Regions from separate parts of the Homo sapiens genome. Here region 2 is linked to region 1. The links are contacts of gene promoters, found by promoter capture Hi-C in human tissues and cell types (Jung and others, 2019). All regions are on one chromosome and are shown on one strand. Each heading gives the region's core, a stretch centred on a gene start or on the middle of the fragment in contact. The rest is flanking DNA. Distances are from core to core; before and after follow the strand shown.

Evidence for each region. The method cuts DNA at HindIII sites, captures the fragments that hold promoters and counts their contacts. A contact is called where the count stands out against the background at its distance.
Region 2: a contact is called between a fragment that was not itself captured here and the fragment with the promoter of CPA6 in region 1, in 4 of the 25 tissues and cell types used here (dorsolateral prefrontal cortex, spleen, stomach and 1 more).

The regions. Positions count from the first base shown.
Region 1 is chr8:67,741,990-67,748,918 of GRCh38, reverse strand. CPA6 (carboxypeptidase A6) reads left to right here and starts at 2,559. Exons shown (of 11, transcript NM_020361.5): 1 at 2,559-2,905. The coding sequence starts at 2,790. RefSeq lists an enhancer at 2,233-2,733. The HindIII fragment of the contact is 6,623 bases long and covers 1,885-6,929 here.
Region 2 is chr8:68,332,279-68,339,207 of GRCh38, reverse strand. All of the region lies in intron 1 of C8orf34 (chromosome 8 open reading frame 34), which reads right to left. Among named protein-coding and RNA genes, the nearest start is that of C8orf34-AS1, 4.3 kb to the right of the region's middle. The HindIII fragment of the contact is 3,576 bases long and covers 1,316-4,891 here.

The DNA of each region.
Region 1 (6,929 bases), core at 1,310-3,809:
TAAATGGACTCCATTTATCTCTCATTTTATGGGAGCTTATCTACTCCAAGAGAAGTTTGATCAGATAACCTGGTCCTTAGTAAAACAGAGAATGATTGCTAGGTATGGCTTCTATTGTTTGAGAACCTCTCTTTGATCTGAAATTTTTAGGAAGGTTACAGGATGTCACCGGAGTTTCTGGCATTTTTGATGGTCCAGGAAATGATTCCTTTGGTCTCAGAGTCTGGAGAGCCTCTGCCGAACATGCTTGCGGGATCCAATCCTTCAGAATGATTTGAGGATGAGTTTAATTCTCAGTCAGAGACTGAACATTCCTAGTTTAATGTTGTGATATAATATGACAGATTTATACATTGTTCTGACATAGCGAAATGCAAAGAGATGAAGTGTTTTATTTACACAGTAACCTCTTATTTCCACAGATCATTGGCTTTCCTGGGCTCATCTAAAAGGCCTGTGAGTACTGCTGTGAGTCTTGCAGAGCAGCCTGACCAGTTTAGGAAGACAAAAGTACAAGGCCAGGAAGTCAGGAAAGAAGGCAACATAAAAAAGAAACGAAACCAGACATGATCACCCGGGGAACTTCCACTCTCCAAAAGCACCCATAGTGTTCTCTGCTCCCAAGGTGCTCTCTCCTCTATCTGGACACAGAAGCATCTATGTTAATGTTTGTTAAATGAATTTCTTCCCTGGTTCATCGTTCATCCAACAGACATCGTTGATCACTCCTTCAGGAAACATTGTATTCCCTCGAGGAGGTATAAGGAAGTGCACAGGAAGACCAAAAGGATACAGTTCTGTATTCAAGGAGAAAGCAGCCTCATGAGGAAACCAGACAAGAAATTTGATGTGGTAATTCCTACAGTAGAGGACATGCCAGGATTTGTGAGGGACACAGAGGAGGCATTAACCAAACTGATGCTGAGAAAGTTGCAGAAAAATTCAGAGCATCATTTCAAATGAAAACCATTTCAGCTGTTTCATGAACCTGACATTGAATCTGTCAAAGGAGTTTTGGTTCAACTCCCCAGGTAGAGAAGATGGGAAAGATTGGGTGCTCTCTCTTCTAACAGGGACTCTGGCTATAGTATTAGAGGGTACAGGAGTTCTTGGCTATGACTCTCCAGGAAGCCTGAAAAGTTTTGTGAGTGTGATGAGGAAATAGTGGCTCACTCTCTGTTTTAGAGCACAACCAGGACTGGGCATGAAAGGTAACAGGAGGCACCCTAGGTGCCTATGCTTATTTAATAGGGCGAGGCACATCCCCTGTAATGGGTTTTGTGGCGTATTGGAATAGGAGCAAGTGGATGCAAATAATAATTTTAAAAAGCTTTCATCATCAACATGGGAAAAAAGAGAAGGAAATGGTTTTCTCCAAGGTTTGCTTGGAAGAAAAAGCAGACCTCATTCTAAAGTGAAGTCTTGCTACTCCAAGTGTGGCTGAAGAGCCAGTGGCACCAGCATCACCTGGAAGCTTCTTTAGAAATGCAGACTCGGCCAGGCGTGGTGGCTCACACCTGTAATCCCAGCACTTCGCAAGGCCGAGACAAGCAGATTGCCTGAGGTCACGAGTTCAAGACCAGCCTGACCGACATGGGGAAACCTCGTCTCTACTAAAAATACAAAAATTAGCTGGGCGTGGTGGTAGGCACCTGTAATCCGAGCTACTCAGGAGGCTGAGGCAGGAGAATCGCTTGAACCTGGGAGGCGGAGGTTGCAGTGAGCCGAGATGGGGACTTGGCACTCCATCCAGCCTGGGCAACAAGAGCGAAACTCTGTCTCAAAAAAGAAAAATAAAAACTCTTAGGCCCCTGTTCCAACCTACGTCAGAGCTGCAGTTTAATGAGATCCCCAGGTGACTTCTATGCATGTGGAGCTCTGAGAAGCCCTGCTCCAGACCAGCATGGTGGTTGAATATTGGAATCACCTAAGGAGCTTTTTAAACCACTGATCCCACCACCACGGTTTCTATTTTCAAGGTCTGGCTCCCTAAATGATTCCAAATGTACAGCCAAGGTGGCAAAGCACTCGAAGGCCTCCTATTCCCCACGAGAACCTCTGAAACAGCAGCAGGTCTGGGTGCTGCTGATGCAGAATGAGTACCAAGATCTCCCTGAAGCCCAATAAAGCCACTGACCACTCCTGTAAGTCAGGAGCAGTGAACTGAAGCCAGCTGTTCGGATCTGGGTGCTATAGGTACCCCCGTGCACGTTCTCATCATGATTGTTCATTGTGCATTTCATTAGGTGGAATCCGTTTAGGAATCTGTCATGGGAGATCAAAAAAACATTAAGCTTGGAATAATCCATGTCTGCTTGTTTAGCCCATCAGACAAATCATTTGCAATTAGGTAGGATCCTCATGCTGAAGAAGATAGAGAAAGAAAGCTTGCACAGAAAAGTTAGAGGCCTCAAGTTGGGAAAGCAAACAAACCAAAAGCAGAGAGGAGTCACCCAAAGGAAGCAGCACCCAGTGAACCCCTGCCGTGAGTCAGCACGAGGGAGGCCCAGCCCTTTCTAGGGGAGCCTGATTAAAGATCAGGCTCAGCTGCTGCTGCTGCTGCTGCTGCTTGTCCCAAGACCAAGTCGTAATAGCAACTTCCCTTCCTCAGCTGCCTGAACTTTTTTTTTCCCTTGTAGCTGGAGAGAAGTGTCACATTTTGCTCACTCTCAACCTTCCTCGCCCACCCCCTTCCCGGAGAACCTGTGCGGTGTGTAGAGGGTGCTGTGAGCCACCTCCAGCCTCGGGTGGCTGCTTAAGTAACTTTCAACTCCTCTCTTCTTAACACTATGAAGTGTCTCGGGAAGCGCAGGGGCCAGGCAGCTGCTTTCCTGCCTCTTTGCTGGCTCTTTTTGAAGATTCTGCAACCGGGGCACAGCCACCTTTATAACAACCGCTATGCTGGGTAAGTGGAGCGACATTCATGCCCTACACAGCTTTGATTTGGATCTGGGGGCTGGTTTGCTCCAGAGTGTGCCTCACTTTTTCTGATTTGGGGGTCTCTGAGTGAATCTGCACACTTTCACGGTCCTCTATATAAAATGTACTCACAGCTCTCTGCTCTTGGCTTTAGCTCACTGAGAGAATGTGGTGGGCTCCAACCTGGCTTTTTATACTTTTTATCATGTGCCAACCTTAGCTGTGGACCCAGGGTTGAATGGGATTCTGTCTTTGGAGTAGCCATGGTCAGTATTTACAGTGTTTGCCTTGGTTGATGCTTGGGGATGCTGTTGTCCTACATGATTTATGACCTGAAAACTAAGCCTTTCTTTACAATTGTATGTAGGAGCGGTGGGTTGAAATTCATCAGTGATTAAGAACTGAGTGTGATTTTTTTTTTGTCTGTGCTTATTAGTCTGTAGAGTGGTTATTAGATTTTTAAATATGAGCAATGCAAATGATTCAACTCAAAATAAGCAGAATAAAAGTAGTCAACTGTAAAATTATGGATAGTTTTTCTGAAGGAAAAACATAGGAGTAAAACAATCAGTTTTGTCCCCCCTCCGTAGGTAAGCATGCTTTCTATATGCCTTTCTTCAGGAGGCAGAGGGCTGGAAGCCGTGTGTTACTATGCACATTCTTATTATCCTGAAGGCTTGCTGTGGTATAGACAGCATGTGATTTGCTCACATATGCAGGGGGTCGTTCTTAGAATCTGGAAATTATGGCTTGCCTGCACTTTAGATCTGGAAAAACCTTAAATACTTCCTCTAGTTCAATTCCTTTTTACAGAGGAGTAAACTCAGTGTCTTACATATTTTTAAATAGGCTACTATCATTCAATAATCACCACCTGAGAAAAGTTTTCATGTAGATCTGGATCATGACAAGGTAGTGTACAGTGTCTTAAAACCAAGTTGTTCTTTTTAGAAATAGTGTAAAAGAGAATTTGTAAGTGTGACCCTGGAAAAGAGAATTGTATTTCTCTTTCTCTCCCAAAGAATCTTGGCACTGCCTTTAGGGTTCCTCTGAATACAGTGCTTACAGAGGAAATTTTGGAAACATGTCCTCAGTTTTAGGGGAGGCAGGATGAGATGGAGGTGTTGGCTGAGGTAGGGGCTATAGATGGCAATATGATCACGGATTTTTCCACCCCAGTATTTCTGGGAGGAACGGAAAGGAGTTAACATCCCAGGGCTGCCTTTTGGCCTGGACATACAAGATCTCAACTTTACCTCCGATAATTTGTGACCCCTTTAGAGATCTGGAAAAAAGAAGCTCATGTTTAAAGACTGATGGTGCAGGCTTGGGTTGTGGGGGACTTAATTCTGACTCTCCTGGCTGATGCCGGGTCAGATGATAAACATAGATCACAGATTTAGACACACGTGTATGACCTAAGACCTCACTCCTCCACTCAGCTGTGGCTCTGTGCATAATTATTTCAGCGTGTGGCACTCCTCCGTGAAAAGTTACCAGGCCTGCTTCAGCTGAGCAGGTGTGCACCCTTCCCTAAGCACCACTTTGAAGAGGAAATGAGGCCAGTGGTGGCACCCTTTTCGTATAGAATTTGTAGCGACTGGAACCCTTCAGGAAAAAGTTTCATTACCTTCTCTGTTTTCAGCAATGGACATAATAATTGCTATTTTCTCTTCAGTTGCTACATAAGTTAATCCCAAGTGTATAAATTACCAGATGTCTAAGAGTAGGAGGGAAGAAAAAGATGAGAGAATGAAAAGAAGTGAGTCTCACTCAACCATTGCAATACAAGCCTAGAGCTTCTTTAAAAGCAAAAATATTTCTGAGCATATTCACTGTTAAAAATGGGGAATTCTACCTTCATTAGACATGTCATTTTCTCATCGCAAAAGACAGAAATGCTGCTCAGCTTTGAGAATGTTTTGCTTTGTTTACTCCAAAACTACTTTCTGCAAGTTTAGCCTTCCGGTGAACAAGAATCTGATGGGAAGACATGGTAGAAGAGTATTTAGCAGTTTTTTTGGCTGGTTTCATCCATCCAAAGTTATTCTGAGCCACCTCATTTTTATTCCTTAATAATTTTTCTCATTTGTTTTTTGCTACTAATGAAGGGGCAGCCCTAGTTCTTGCATTCATGTAAAAATATTTTTGTAGGTCTTTGTAGAATCTAATAATATGTGATTATCATTTACAGGACCCTGAGCATGAATAAAAAATGGAACACACAGGGCAGACCAGCATGCCTCCTGAGAGTAGCTAATGAGGGCAGTCCTCTTTAGACATAAACTAGTAACAATTGGATAGTGCCAAGTGTGTAATAGATGCTTAGTAAATGGTAAATTTAAGTGTCTCAGAAAAAAAAAATTGCCTTGGGATGGGTAGTGGGAGATTTGGGGAGAAATAGGGATGATTAATGGTCATTTAAAAACGTTAGAAAGAGTAAGACCTGTTTGCTTGCACAACAGGGTAACCATAGTCAATAATCTAATTGTACATTTTGAAATGACTAACAGTGTGACTGAATTGTTGTAACACAGAGAATAAACGCTTAAGGGGATAGATACCCCATTCTCTACGATGTGCTTATTTTACATTGCATGCCTGTGTCAAAACATCTCATGTACCCCATAAATATATATTGGGTATATAGTAGTATGTATATACTTCTATATACCCACAAAAATTAAAAACTTAAAAAAATGTGTGGAAAGACTACAAGAAAAATCTGATGACAAAAGCTAGTGCCTTTTTTGTTAACTACATTAAACACTTACAAGGCAGATCTTTAAATGCATAGGAAAGGAATGAAGCAAAGTGGAAAATAACGACTTCGATTATATTTATTGGTACTTTATGTCAAGGGCTTCAGGGGTTACAAATGCCAAGCCAAACATTTCAGGGATCAATAAATGTCCGTCAGTAAGTGAGACAAGCAAACATCATTCTGTGTTTCTCTTTTTCTCCCTCATCTCCCTGTTTTCCCAAAAGCAGACCTGATTATTTATTATGCTGTGATATTGAAACCAAAAAAAAAAATCTTCTGCGTCACAGAAAATTAGGGTAGATTTTTAAAATAGTGGTAAAAGAGAGATCTCAGACAGTAACAATAAATTCTGGCAAAATTGTAGAACTAACATGGCCATGATTTTTGAAAACTACTTATTGAGTGCCTTCTTCATGTGTCAGCGTAGCATAAGTCTGAAGTTTAACTGCCTGGGTCTCAGTTTTTGCTCTCCCACATTTAGTAGCTCTGTTATCTTAGACAAGTTATTTAACTTCTTAAACTGAGGTTTCCTTATCTTGGACAATGGAGGTAATATTAGACCTTCCTCACCAAGTTGCTGGGAGGATTCAAGAATAGCATGGTTCTTGGCACTTAGTAAGAACTTAACAGGATAGTAAAATACTTACCAAGACTTAATATAAACATTTATAAAAACATTAATTCTAAGAACAACCTTATGCATTTGTTATCCTCATTTTACAAATAGGCTAAATGAAGTACAGTCCAGATAGCCCAAGTTCAGGGCTAACTAGCTCAAGGACACACTTGAGATTCTCACCCAGCTCTGCCTGACTCCACCACTGTACTTCTCACTCTGCCACTTATTCAGGCACAGAGAAGAATTGCTTTTAAGAAAAACTGGAAGATTTACTCTTGTTTGGGGAACTGATAGTTTCAGAACAATAAAGGAAAAGAGATTATATAGGTAAAATTGGAGGTTTAATTTTGGTCACCTTCTCTAGGGTGATGATGAGTCACCGATAATGAATCATTATTAGAAAAGCATGCAGGGCCCATAAGGGATAGAAAACAGAAGAAGAAAGAACTTTCTGTTGTCACACACACACGCGCACACACACACACACAAAAGTAGAACAGAAAGTAGCTGTGATTGTGTGCCTTTGTTCATGCAAGTATTATTTGGATGCCCATTGTGTGCTGAGAACTTGACCAACAGAGTGAATGCCCTCTGATAGCTTGCTGTACAGTAGAGAAAATTGCCTAC
Region 2 (6,929 bases), core at 1,854-4,353, 590 kb before region 1:
TCAATTCTGCCTAACAGCACCTATAAATTCAACACAATCTGAATCAAAATTCCAGCAGGTATTTTTATATGAAAATTAACAAAATGATCCTAAAATTTATATGAAAATGAAAAGGATCTAGAACATATAATTCTTAAACCCCCAAAACAACCCAAATAAAAATGGGCAACATATTTGGACAGACACATCACCAAAGATATACGGAAGGCAAATAATCACAAGAAAAGAAAATTCATTGCATTAGAGATCAGAGAAGTATAAATTAATATAACAATGAGATATCATTACAAACCTATTAGAATGGCTAATGGGTTTCTGGCTAAAAAGACTGACAATACCAAGATTAGGTGAGGATATGGAACAACTGGAACTCCTATACACTGTTCACAGAAATGTAGAATTGTACATCCACTTTAATAACTAGTTTATTTAAAAATTTAACATATACCTACCATATGGTTCAGTCAATCCACTCCAGGTATTTACATAAGAAAAATGAAAGCACATAGCCATACGGAATACAACTCAGCAATAAAAGGAAATAAAAATTGGTAACATGCTGCAACATGGATGAATATTAAAATAATTAGGTTAATAATTATTAACTTAAAGATGTTAAAGAGGATATACCAAAAAATTTGCATAGTGTGTGATTTCATATACATGAAACTCTAAAAAATGAAACCTAATCCATAGTGACAAAAAGGAGATCAGTCATTGCCTGAAGATGCAGAAGGAGTAAGGAGAAGAGGAGTTACAAACAGGCTTCTAGACAGTAGGAAGGGCATATGAGGAGCCTGTTCCAACTGAGACAATGCATTTTAAGGTAATTTCCAGGAAATTCCAAACAACGTTTTCACTACATATGCTGTGGTTTGAATGTGGCCCCTTCAGAATTCATATGTTGCCAATCTGAAGGGGTTTATAAGTGAGGTCTTTAAGTGATGATTAGACCAAGAAAGCTGCTCCCTCATTAATGGGATTAGAGACCTTTTAAAAGAGGCTTCATACAGTGTTGGGCTAGCTTGCCTTCTGCCTTCTGCCATATGAGGACAAAGTAAGAGGGCCCTCACCAGACCAAATGCCAGCACCATGATCTTGGACTTCCCAGCCTCCAGATCTGTGAGAAATAAAGGCATTGTGTAATAGCAGCAGAAAAACTAAGAAAACACATCATTGACTCTGTGTCACTGACTATATATAGGTGCAAAGAAGATGCCACCATTTGTAATAAAGAAATTCTGTACACAAAGGAGAAAGTGTCTCCCTCAGCACTCTTTCTTATGTTCCAGCACTCTTGTGCATTTATTGTTTAAATATTTTTTTCAGATATTTCAAAATGATTTTGAGAGGGAGAAGAGGAAAATGCATATGCTTAGTTAACCAGAATTGCAAATTGTCTTTACTCAGATTTGTAGCTATTTATTGTATAAGCCATTTCCTCGTATAAACATTGATGAAATTCTGAACTACATTCACATAATTTACTGTTTAAAGAAACCCAATAGGTGAACTATTTTGCAAATACTGATTCCCTAGGTGCTCTTTAAAATTATTTTTAGTAATTTTTCTTTTAAGGTAATTTTAAATTATAGAAAAAGTATAGGAACAATACAAACAATTCCTTATTCCATTCACATAGAGACCACATTCAAATTTTGTCAACTTTCCCAATAATCTCTTTCATAACAGAAGTATTATATCTAGAACCATATTTTGCACTTAGTTGCCATGTCCCTTCAGTCTGAGGCCTCTCTTGACCCTCATGACTTTAACATTTTTGAAAACTCTAGAAAAGTTACTTTGTAGATTTTCTCTATTAGCTTTATAAGATATTTTCTCATTATTCAGTTCAGGTTATACATGATTGTCAGGAAAATCACAAAACAATGCTGTGTTGTTTTAAATGCATCCTATCATGGGCATACAATATTGCTTTATCCCATCACTTGAACGAAGTAGTGTCTGCCAGGTTTCTTTACTGTAAAGTCACTTTTTCCCTTTATAATTTACAAGTATTTTGTAGGAAGATACTTAGAGATTATGTAACATCTTATTGTTTATCCAACTTTTACCCATTAATTTTAGTACTGATTAATGTTTCTTGCCTGAATTATCTTTCAGATGGTTGCCAAGTAGTAATTTTCTAATTCCATCATCCTTCTACTTTTATTAGTTGGCATTCTACTATAAGGTAAAGTTTTCTCTTCTCCCCATGAATTAAGCACATTCCACATTCCATTAGATCCCAGTGAAGTAAAATATTCCTATTTTATTCAGTAAAATAATCTGTTACTATCATTCTTTATTTTGACCCTCAAGTTGTCTTAGGGGTAGGCACATCCTCTGTGTCCTTTGATACATACCTACTATTCTTTGAGCTCTTCCTTACTTTTTGACATATGATACTCCAAACCTTGCTTAGCCCCAAACCTGGAATCAACCATTTCTTCAAGGACACCTGGTTCTACTTAATGGAGAATGGTATTTAGAAACCAAAATGTGGATGCTAGGTGTGCTCATTGCTACCAGGATGTTGTTATTCCCAGGCCCTTCCAGTAGACAGAGTTGGGAAGTAAATGTAGGTATATGCACTTAAGTATATGTAAATACATACAAATCTATATTTGTTTCTATTACATCTATACCTGTTTCTATTATTGAAAGTCATGAGATCACACCAACACCTCCAATTTCAATCCAACACAACAAGGTTCATTCTAGCTTTCCCTATACTATCTCTGTGACTCCTATGTCCATCAGTAAGAAGGCTGACTTGAATATATATTTTTTCAATATATTTAATTATTTTCTGAATACCCTGCCCCCACCTTGTACGTAACAAATCTTCTGACCCTGCCAGGCCACTGCCCACTCAGCCCCTTTCTTTAATTGTGCTCTGATACTTTCCAGGTGAACTCCCAACTTAGCTCTCCTTGTCATATGGGTCTTAGCTGTAGTCTTAGCTGTTCTCTTTGTATGGTTCATGGCTTCTTAATTGAATTATGAAAAAAAAAAGGGAGGAAAGCCTATGTTATTTTTGTAGTCTCATATTTCCATTGATCACATTCTCTTAAGAGAGACCCACAAATATTAAAATACTATTTTTTTTCTTTTTTTTGTAATGGGGTCTCCCTCTGTTGCCCAGGCTGGAGTGCAATGGCATAATCTTGGCTCACTGCAACCTCCACTTCCTGGGTTCAAGCAATTCTCCTGCCTCAGCCTCCCGAGGAGCTGGGATTACAGGTGTGCATCACCATGCCTGGTTAATTTTTGAATTTTTAGTAGAGATGTGGTTTCACTGTGTTGGCCAGGCTGGTCTTTGGTCTCAAACTCCTGACCTCAAGTGATCCAGCTGCCTCAGCCTCCCAATGTGCTGGGACTACAGGCATGAACCACCATGCCTGCCCAAAATATTATTTCTTTTTTCAAATTTATTGATGCCATATTGGTATATGTACATATTACTATTTCTAAGGTTATATAGTGATTTATTGAATTGAATTTTGGGTCACTTTATTAAGCTATTTAAAAGCTGCATGAAAATAAAATACATTAAGGCAGAAATGAAAAATAAATGGGCTGGTAATAGAAACATGTTAATTAAAGTAACATTTTAAAAAACTGTTTTGAAGTAAGTCAATGACAACACTTAACTTGGACTCTAGGCAAAATTTTATAAAATGGAACTGCTTTGTCTTCTGCCTCCTCTAAATGCTCTGAGATTATAAAGATTAATGCAAATTTTGATATAGGAAAAGTCTTCATAACTTTGAGCACTGGGGAAGATCACCTGACAATCATTACTCCAAAAAATATATTTACAATATTTAAGTTGAACATATTATAACTACCAAGCTTATATTTTATTACTTCTCTAATAAAAGCATTTTCCTAATCATTTTTATTAAAATGACACTTTTACCTTTATTAACGACAAATTATTTTTAAACATTAAAATATCTTTCTGGAGGGGTATTTTACCTCTGGCCATAAGTGAGTAACTAGTATCCTTCTTATCCCCAAACAACTGCCCTAAACAATCATAAGCCTGCCTAAATTAGACAAAAATATTTCTTTTCATGTATTAAATAACAGGTAGCCCACGGCTGTGATCCTTATGAGAGGGGGAACAACGAAAGGAGATCTCCGCAGACACTACAGCTCTCTGATAAACGCAAGGAGCATTTTTTAGATATGATCAGGGAGGTCAATAAAGTGAAATAATGGGCTTGCTGAGGGTTGGCAGCAAATTGGAGTTCAGGGTTGCATACATGGCTGGAAGAAGTGCCGTGGGGTACCAGAGAAGAGCAAGCTGGGCAACAGCAAAATATATAAGTGATGCAGGCTTTGATCATAAGTTTGATAAGTCCATTTTATAACATATATGCCAAATCAGTTAATGCAAATTTACACCATGTGAGTAGAAGCACTTTGAGTGGAACAGAGAAGGTGATAGTGATTCCATTCTATTTGGAGTGGGTCATACCATACTTAGAGAAATGTAGTGACTTTTGTTTGCCACATCTTCAGTACACAAATTTAAAAATTCCATGGTGATTTTATGAAGATCCCCACTATTTGGCTTCTTAGTAACTTAAGATTTCACACTCTTGTGAGTGTGATCAGGCCTGAACCAAGATATATAACTGCCCTGAGCACTCTTCCAATCAATAATGGGAGAAACTCAAAAGTTTCTATTTCTTTATATAAAATGTGTGTGTACACAAACATACATGGAATATATATATTCCACTATATATAATATTTATATATATTACAAATATTTATCTTGTAAGATGTAAACCATTACATCTTACAAAAATTAGAAAGTTTGTGAAATGTATTTTTCATCTTACACCTTCATATTATCTAATCAGAATATCATTGTCCAGAATTCTAATGCAATGATTTTTAGGCATAGTTTTGTAATGCTCCAAAACATCTTCAATGAAATTTAAAAGTAGTACAAATTTATTCACCTGAGTCAGCTGGAAACAAAATTAATTTCAATTTAAAATAAATTTTGAAACACCATACTGCATGTAACACTTTAATAAGCATCTCAAATCATAAAATATTAGCAATAAACTAAGTAAGAAATAAACTAAGTGAACAAACTAGGTAAATAAGCCCTACAGGTAAAAAAGAGGATCAAGTATTCTCAATATCAGTGAATAGGTTACTTTTTGCTATTGTTTTAAAAAACATTCATAGATTATCTTTAAAGTATCTCATACCAATTAAGTTTTCTTAAAACATTCCTAACTTAAACTATCCACAAGGGGGACATATTATCAGATACCGCATATTTTCCAAACTGAAAGAAGCCTGTGTCAGCTACACTGACTCAACACAACAAAGCATAGATGACAAGACATGAAGCGGCCAATTTCAATTTGTGAGTGGTAAAAGGAGATTTTAGCTCAGTTTCTCAAAATGTGGCCCAGAAATTAAAATTGTAGCAAACATTTGTGCTGCTTCTAAATATGTTCAGATTGCTGGGCACCTCCTCTGACCCAAATCAATTCCTGTGAAAACTATTGAGTAAGGTCCTAGAAGAGAATGGACGGTCTCTAGGTCAACAATGTCCATTTCACAGGTGGCACTGGTTTTCTAACATGAAACAAGTAGGCTACACGCTAGTAAAATCTTCCAATTTTGTGAAATACGTATAATTGTACTCTCAAAGTCAAGCTCTATCATGATCAAAATTGTTGCATAAGGAACTGTGTTACATCCAGCTTTTATTAAAAGAGAATTTATTATCCATTTTTCTCCCTTCAATTATTTAAAGTGGACATCAAACCTTAAAAAATGCACTACTCATCACTGCAATCTAAGCTAATGCCAGTGTATGTCATATGTATTCAATAAAATACGAAGCATGGTGGTGCTTGTTTTTTGGTGAGGGGACCTAAAGCTTTTATGAGACACGTTGCTATCACTTAAAATTCTTCAGCGCATAACTTGCTGGTGAGCATCAAAAGGTGGGGGTTAGGGGGCACTTCATAAATATCCATTTGAGTTTATTTTCTAATTCTGCAGAAAGTTTACATATATTCCTAATTTTATTATTATTAAAATCTTGGGGATTTTAAGATAACAAATTAAAACAGTATTTATTAAAAACAATTCATTTATTCTCCCAGGCTAATTGTACTTTATACTCCAGGAGAGTAGAGAGAAAACACACACTCTAAATGTATGTATTTTATGATTCTTTCGATGCAATTAATACACTGCGTTGCAGAAGGTTTTAGGCTTCTGCCTTTAAAAAAATTATATAGGATTATGTATAATCAATAATCATTAAACTAAAGGCAAAGAAAAGAAATCTGGTAGTTCCATCAATTTTATTTCGCTCTTGCATGGATTGCCTTTGTTAACATTTTTGGCAGAAAAAAGAATCAAAGCAATTGTAGGACTCTGCACCCCACAATGCGAGCTTCAATTGAAACAATGGTCTTATCGTCTAAGACAGATCAACGTTAAAGTTGGGCAAAAAAACTTAGGAGATCTTGCAAATCTTGTTATGTGAAACCCGTCCTCCCAAAAGACCTATTGGACCACACCTTTGTCCTCCGCGCCCTTTTTTTGCAGGGTCATTAACTCGCATTATTTTTTTGTTCTCCACAGTTCTCACTTGCTTCTCTTCAGTCTTTGCTAGGTTTTCCGCGATCTCCAGTGCAGCCCCTTCCACTTGCCGCGATTCTGCCTCTCTCAGACACTGACACGTAACCTCCTCCCCATACCAAGCCCTCACCCCAAACCAAGCTGTTAAGAACAGCTACAACTGCTTCTGGGAGACGTGGGGGGCGGGGGCAAGGCGGGGGCAAGGCGGGGGCAAGGCGGGAGCACCTCGACCCTCCCGCGAACTCTCGCCGCCGGTCAGTGCCCCCTGAACTGGATGGGACCAAGGGAGTCCC